Regions from separate parts of the Homo sapiens genome. Here region 1 is linked to region 2. Evidence: promoter capture Hi-C in 16 types of primary human blood cells and fetal thymus (Javierre and others, 2016). All regions are on one chromosome and are shown on one strand. Each heading gives the region's core, a stretch centred on a gene start or on the middle of the fragment in contact. The rest is flanking DNA. Distances are from core to core; before and after follow the strand shown. Region 1 holds the start of SPATA41 (spermatogenesis associated 41). Region 2 holds the start of LYSMD4 (LysM domain containing 4).

Region 1 (3,270 bases), core at 506-3,005, 620 kb before region 2:
TCTGATGGTGTCAGCAACACAATGCAAGCACCACATTCATTGTTTCCTAGGGAAGCTAAACAGTTCCATTCCTGGACCTATACCATGGGTGGGTAGAGAGGCTGCACACAGGGACCAACTAGCCATCTGGCTGCTCTTGCAGATGTACTTACCCTGCTCAGCCTACAGGTTGCTTTTGGGTGCCCTAAATTTTTTATAGCCACTTCTTGCACACCTCCATTAGATGAATGCTTTCATATAAATCTTTAACATGCCTTAGAATTAATTTTAGTTTGTGTTATGACTCTGTAGTTGTTAGCTATTGCTGCATAACAAATTAGTCCAAAACTTAGTGACTCAAAACACTAATAATAATTTATTTTCTCTTGTTTTTTTAACGGTCTGGAATTCAGCCAGGGTGGACACAGTGGGAAGGGCTTGTCTCTACTCATGGTGTTTGGGGCAGACTCAAAGGCTGGGGGCTGAAATCATCGGAAGGCCTGACTGAGGGTAGAGGATCTGCTTCCAAAATGACTCACTCACATGACAAATTAGTTGGTTCTGGCAAGTTGGCCTCCTTTCCAAGAAGTGCCTCTCCACACATGTGCTTCTCTGCAGGGTTGCTTGAGTGTCCTCATGACATGGCTGGTGGTTCCCAAAAAAGCAAGTGATCCAAGAGCAACATTCAGGAATAAGTTCAATCCTTTCTATGACCTAGCCTCAGAACTCACAAAGCATCACTCTCAATACGCCCTATTCATCAGAAGCCAGGCAGTAATTCCAGCACACTTTCTAGGCAGAGGAATTAGGTACACCTGTTGAAGGGAAGCAGGTCATAATTAGAGGATATATTTTTGAACCACCACAGAATCTAACTTAGGTTCGTACAAATATATAAACAGCTGTCCAATACCACATATTGAATAGTCTATCATTACTATATCAGTCTGAGCCATGACTATTTGCATTTACTAAGAATGTGTGTTATTACCATTGAAGACCTTCCAGTGGGACAAGATGTGAAAGCAGAAGACAGTGGTATTGATGATCCTGACCCTGTATAGGCCTAGGCTAATGTGTGTTTGTGTCTTAATATTTGACAAAAAGTTTAAAATGTAAAAAATAAACAACTTCAAAAGTAGGAAAAAAGCTTATAGAATAAGGATATGAAGAATGAAAATATTTTTGTATAGCTGTACAATGTGTTTGTGTATTCAAGCTGTTATTAAAAGAGTCAAAAAATTTAAAAATTCTTAAGGTAGAAAAGTTACAGTAAGCTAAAGTGAATATATTATTGAAGGAAAGAAAATTTTTAAAAATAAATTGAGTGTGGGCCTAGTGTACAGGGTTTTAAAGTCTACAGTAGTGTACAGTAATGTCCTAGGCCTTCGTATTTACTCACCACTCACTTACTGACTCACCCAGAGCAACTTTCAGTCCCGTAAGCTCCAAGCTTACGGTAGGTGCCCTAGGCAGGTGCACCAGTTTCAATCTTTCATACCATATTTTTACTGTATCTTTTCTATGTTTAGATACACAAATACTTACCATTGTGTTACAGTTGCCTACAGTGTTCAGTACCACACTGTACAGGTTTGTAGTCTAGAAGCACAGCCTACAGCCTGGGTGTGTAGTAGGCTGTGCTGTTTAGGTTTGGGTAAGTACACTCTATATTGTTTGCACAATGATGCAATTGCCTGACGATGCATTTCTCAGAACGTCTGCTCACTGTTACGCAACGGAGGACTGTGAATTGGGAGTTTATTTTGTTTTTCAGTCTGTACTGGCAGCGAATCATACATAGCTTAGTTTATCAGACAAGCTGCTTTTCTTGAGCAAAGAAAGAACTAGGAGAGAAACGGGGCTTTGGAACCCTGATGCGGCAATGCTGAAAGAGGAGAAATATCCCAAGGAAGGGAAAGGTGTGTTGCAGAACGATGAAAAATAGGCGGCTTCTCACAGCTGTTCTCAGGGGACGAGACGGGGTGGGATGCAGCTCCGCCGGTGCCTAACACTAAGGGCCCTCATCCTGCCGATTCAGTTGTGTCGGGACCGCCAGTGCTGTCTCCTCGTCAGATGCTGCTTCTGGTCTCCCCGCAGAAGATGCCACTGGAGTTGCCTTTTCAAGGATGGGGACATTTGAAGGCCCTGGACGCTCAGCTCTGAGGCTGGCTGGGATCTCACTAGCACCCCCTGGTGGAGGCCGGAGCCAGGCTGACGCGGGAAAGTGGGGCACGGAAGCGCTGCGGATTGGACCGGCGGCAGCTAGGCCGAAACGCCTGTATTTAAAGGGATAGTAACTCGGACTCGTTCTGCAATATCCCCACAAGGGCCTGACTGAGCGAGCGAGCATGGACGGCCGCGGGGCTTTCTGGACAGTGGCCATTCCCAGAGCCAGGCAGGAAGGCCTCGGGAGGCTGGGGCTCCCGTTCCCGGTGAAGCGGACGCCGCCAGCGCCCCAGAACCCAGGAGGAAGCACACAGGCCCCACAGAGAGTGGTTGGCAAGAGTCACTCGGGGATTAGGATGCCGGCCAAATCGCGGAATTTGAGGCTGGAATCCAAGCTCAACAGGAAAGTAGTGAAATACAAATGGGGAAAACAGGGCTCTGGAGCGGGGAGGGAGCTGGTGCCGGCATTTCCCACCAACGCCGGTTTAGGAAGACGGGACCGATGCCGGCCGCCCCCTGCTGGAGGGGATGTGGCATCTCACGGGCTGCCAGGGAGCGGGGTTGGCTACTCCTGCAACCAGCGTGAAGAGGGTCTCAGGGGAGGCTGTGGTGGGATCCCCCACGTGCCCTTGTTCCTCTCACCGTTACCTCTGGATGCCTCGGGGCAAAGGCCTTCTTCCACCTATAGACAGAGTCTACGCAGGGGTCTTGGAACCCGGGCACACCAGTCCCCAGCTAACGAAATCCCCGAGTTGGGGGATTTGAGAGGGTCACGTTTGGCCCAAGAACCCGCAGTCCTCTTTGGTCTTCGGCCCTCTATTTCTAAGCGTGGGCTTCTGGCACGGCGGCTCTGGGCACAGCCCATGCTGCTTTCGGGCTGGGTGGTTTCAACGACGACAACAATTATCACAGTGACGGTGACCTTCACCCCAACAGGACTGCTGTGTGTGAAGCACTCAAGAGGGCCCCTACAACCAACCTGCCAGGAGTCGGCTCCTGAAAACAGGGTCGGAAAAGGTCAGTGCCCATCAGAATCGAGCTGTCGGCAAAAAGCTGGAGAGGTTAGGAGCTTTGTCTATCTCAAGGGTAACAAACTGCTTTGACCCTGAGGGCTCTGAAGAC
Region 2 (3,212 bases), core at 183-2,682:
GTGAGACTCATTCGCTATCTGGAGAACAGCACAGAAAACACCTGCTCCCATGATTCAATCACCTCCCACCAGGTCCCTCCCACAACAGGTGGAAACTGTGGGAGCTACAATTCAAGATGAGTTTTGGGTGTGGACACAGTCAAATCCTATTAGTGGGAAAAGGTTTGTGAGATCTTGTTTTAATGTTTGCTTTGTTGTTTAATCTGATTGCAAGTGAGGGTTAAAAACATTTTCAACCTGTTGACCATTTGCATTGTTTGCTGAATTATCTGCTCCTGTCTCTCTGAGGTCTCCCTCAGACCTGCTGAGGTCTTAGCATCTTTCCTATTCATATGAAGTCTCTCTCAGCGAAGGATTTTAATCCTTTGTTGTGTTCAGTTTATTTTCCCTAGGTTATCTGCTTTTTAATTTTGGTTTTCCTTTTTAAGTAGAAGCTCTGAACTTTGTGCCTTAGTGTGTGAGGTTTTTGTTTTTGTTTTTTTTTGAGATGGAGTCTCCCTCTGTTGCCCAGGCTGGAGTGCAGTGGCACGATCTCGGCTCACTGCAACCTCCGCCTCCGGGTTCAAGCAATCCTCTGTCTCAGCCTCCTGAGTAGCTGGGATTACAGGCGCCCGCCACCATGCCCGGCTAACTTTTTTATTTTTTTTTATTTTTATTTTTTTAGTAGAGACGGGGTTTCACCATCTTGGCCAGGCTGGTCTCGAACTCCTGACCTCGTGATCCACCAGCCTCGGCCTCCCAAAGTGCTGGGATTACGGGCGTGAGCCACCGCGCCCGGCCAGTGTGTGAGAATTCTTCCACCACTTTTCATCTTAAGAAATCCTCGGCCACCTGACATTTGATAAACACGACTTAAGTTTTCTTGGTCCCTGTTGTCCGCATCCATGTTTTACACTCGTGGATTTCTGTTTTCTTCTCGGGGTGGGGCAATGCCTCCCCTGGTGCGGCCCTCAAAGGCCCAGGAGCGCAGATCCCGCCGCAGAAAGACCCCTCGCCCATCTGCGCCCAGCCCTTCCCCGCAGGAGGGCTCAGGGGACCCCACGCTACTGGAATCCACCCCGAGTCACAGCTACAGATCATTACCCACAAGTGGGGTCAAAGGCCTCTTTACGGGCGAGAAAGCTGCGGCTCAGCAGAAAGCCAAGCACTTTGGGAGGGAGGAGCTGAGGTGCCTTATTACTCCGAACAGACGCGAAAACAAGCCAGGGCCCGCGCGGGTAGACCTGGTAGGCGGGTGGGCGGGGCGAGGGCCACTTCCGGGGTGTGGAACCCTGTCGAGCCCCGCCCCGAGCCCCGCCCCGAGCCCCGCCCCGGGCCCTGTGGTCCCGGGATGAGCTCTCCGCGCAGCCAGGCTCGCTCCAGTGCCCGCCCAGCGCTGACTTCATTGGCTGCCTCCCCAGTCCCGCCCCCAGGGGGGCCCTGCTGATGTTCGTAGCCAATCCGCAGGCGCGGTGGCAGCTGCGGGTCGCGGGTCGCGGGTCGCGAGTCGCCGGTCGCCGGTCGCGGCGGAGCCTGGGCGCTGAGGTACCGGGGCCTGGACGAGGGGGCCGCGGTCTGGCTAGGGAGCCGCGCGGGCTCATGGCGGTACGGCGACCTGGCCTCGCTCGAGGGTTCGCGGGCGGGCCGCCCCTCCCCGGGCTCCTAGGGGGACGCTCCAGCTGGAGGGGCGGTGACCGCGACTGTCGTGGGCTGGCCCCAGGTGGCTAGGGTTGGGGGTCAGAGGTCAGAGGTTCTGCCCTCTGGAATGTTAGGGCCCCGCCCGTGGAGCCGTGGAGCCCTGGGGCCGGGCCGCTCCCCATTTTCCTGTCAGCTCTTGTTGAGGTGCCCCATCTTTTCGCAGAAGGGACTTGGAGGGAAGCGGGCCTGGAGCTGCTGCCGCCGCCCCTGAGCTCGGACGCGAAGGCTGGCCCCGTCCCCGGGCTGCCGCCGTGGTCCTGCAGGTGACCCTCAACCCCCCGAGGACCGCCGGCCGCCTCCCGCCTCCGGGCAGGCTCAGGAGCGCGCGGAGCGGGGTGTGGGCCTGTGACCCTCGAAGGCGTGGGCGGGGAGTAGGGGGTCGAGCTGGGGCCGCAGGCTGTCCCCGTACGGGCTGCTCCCCTGTGGCTCCGAAGCCACCTTTTTCTGAAGTTGTCAGCCCGCGTGTTTGAGATTTCGTTTCTGGAATCTCACGCGAACAATCTGGAGAGAGGAACAGGGGTCTTGCGGCTTTGGCTGTTGACTCAAGGGGAAAATAAAAACCAGACAATGGGGATGTAATGAATGCAAAGTGACCCGTGAGCAAACTGGACGCTTTTCTCCGGCTGACAGGCATGAGTTCTCCCCGTAGCTTGCCCCACATACTGTGAGTTAAACTGTGTCAAAGTAAGAGCAGTTTAGCCCCACAGTTCTGAGCAAGAGTCCTTAGCGCTGACCTTCTTAGTGAAGATACTTTGCAATGTGTAAAATATTGAATACAAAATTATTGTGCAAAGCTTCTGAGTTGAAGATTCTGAGTGCGCGGAGGCTGGCGGCAGCCCTTACTTGCCATTGCAAGGATCTCAACTTACTACTCTGAGAGCAAAAGTAGTTGTTTCTTTACAGATGTGGGTTTAGGGGAGACAGCTATGGATGAGGAACAGGGGCGGGGTTCGTTTTCTGCACAAAACGTATGCGATTAGAAAAAACAAAGGGTTTTTATTCTGCCTATCTTCTTCCATCTCAGCCAGCATAAGCACATTCTTTTTTTTCTGTTGATGATGTATGCTGAGTATTTGCAGCGATTAGGAAAAGGAATACTCTCTAACAAGACACTTCTCTTTAAACGAGGCGGTGGAGGGATGATTATGTCTTCTGTGGAATTAACCCTCCGGCTTGATTTTCAGTGAAGAAAATGAGGCACGAGGAATTGTTAACCAAGACCTTCCAAGGCCCAGCTGTTGTGTGTGGGACTCCGACCAGCCACGTATACATGTTTAAGAATGGCAGTGGGGACTCGGGGGACTCTTCTGAAGAAGAGTCTCACCGTGTGGTTTTGCGGCCCCGGGGCAAGGAGCGCCACAAGAGCGGTGTCCACCAGCCTCCCCAGGCGGGAGCAGGTGACGTGGTGCTGCTGCAGCGGGAGCTGGCCCAGGAGGACAGCCTCAACAAGCTGGCGCTGCAGTATGGCTGCAAAGTAAGACACCCCTCAGGGGCCCTGCCCCGCTCCGTTTCAAGGAACACGGGGAACTCACTGC

Evidence for each region. Contacts are between HindIII fragments. The CHiCAGO score rates a contact against its expected background, and 5 or more counts as called.
Region 1: the fragment with the promoter of SPATA41 here is called in contact with the fragment with the promoter of LYSMD4 in region 2 in 1 of 17 cell types (non-activated CD4 T cells); the score reaches 6.9 in non-activated CD4 T cells.

What each region holds. Positions count from the first base shown.
Region 1 is chr15:100,349,203-100,352,472 of GRCh38, reverse strand. SPATA41 (spermatogenesis associated 41) reads left to right here and starts at 1,755. Exons shown (of 2, transcript NR_028139.1): 1 at 1,755-3,270. It overlaps LOC105371021 (a long non-coding RNA gene), which reads right to left and starts at 2,867. Exons shown (of 3, transcript XR_007064777.1): 1 at 2,791-2,867; 2 at 1,528-2,098; 3 at 329-794. RefSeq lists an enhancer at 2,328-2,587. The HindIII fragment of the contact is 2,620 bases long and covers 1,435-3,270 here.
Region 2 is chr15:99,731,657-99,734,868 of GRCh38, reverse strand. It overlaps LYSMD4 (LysM domain containing 4), which reads left to right and starts at 1,432. Exons shown (of 3, transcript NM_001284417.2): 1 at 1,432-1,524; 2 at 2,862-3,151. The coding sequence starts at 2,870. RefSeq lists silencers at 1,103-1,832, 1,873-1,982. The HindIII fragment of the contact is 4,446 bases long and covers 1-2,473 here.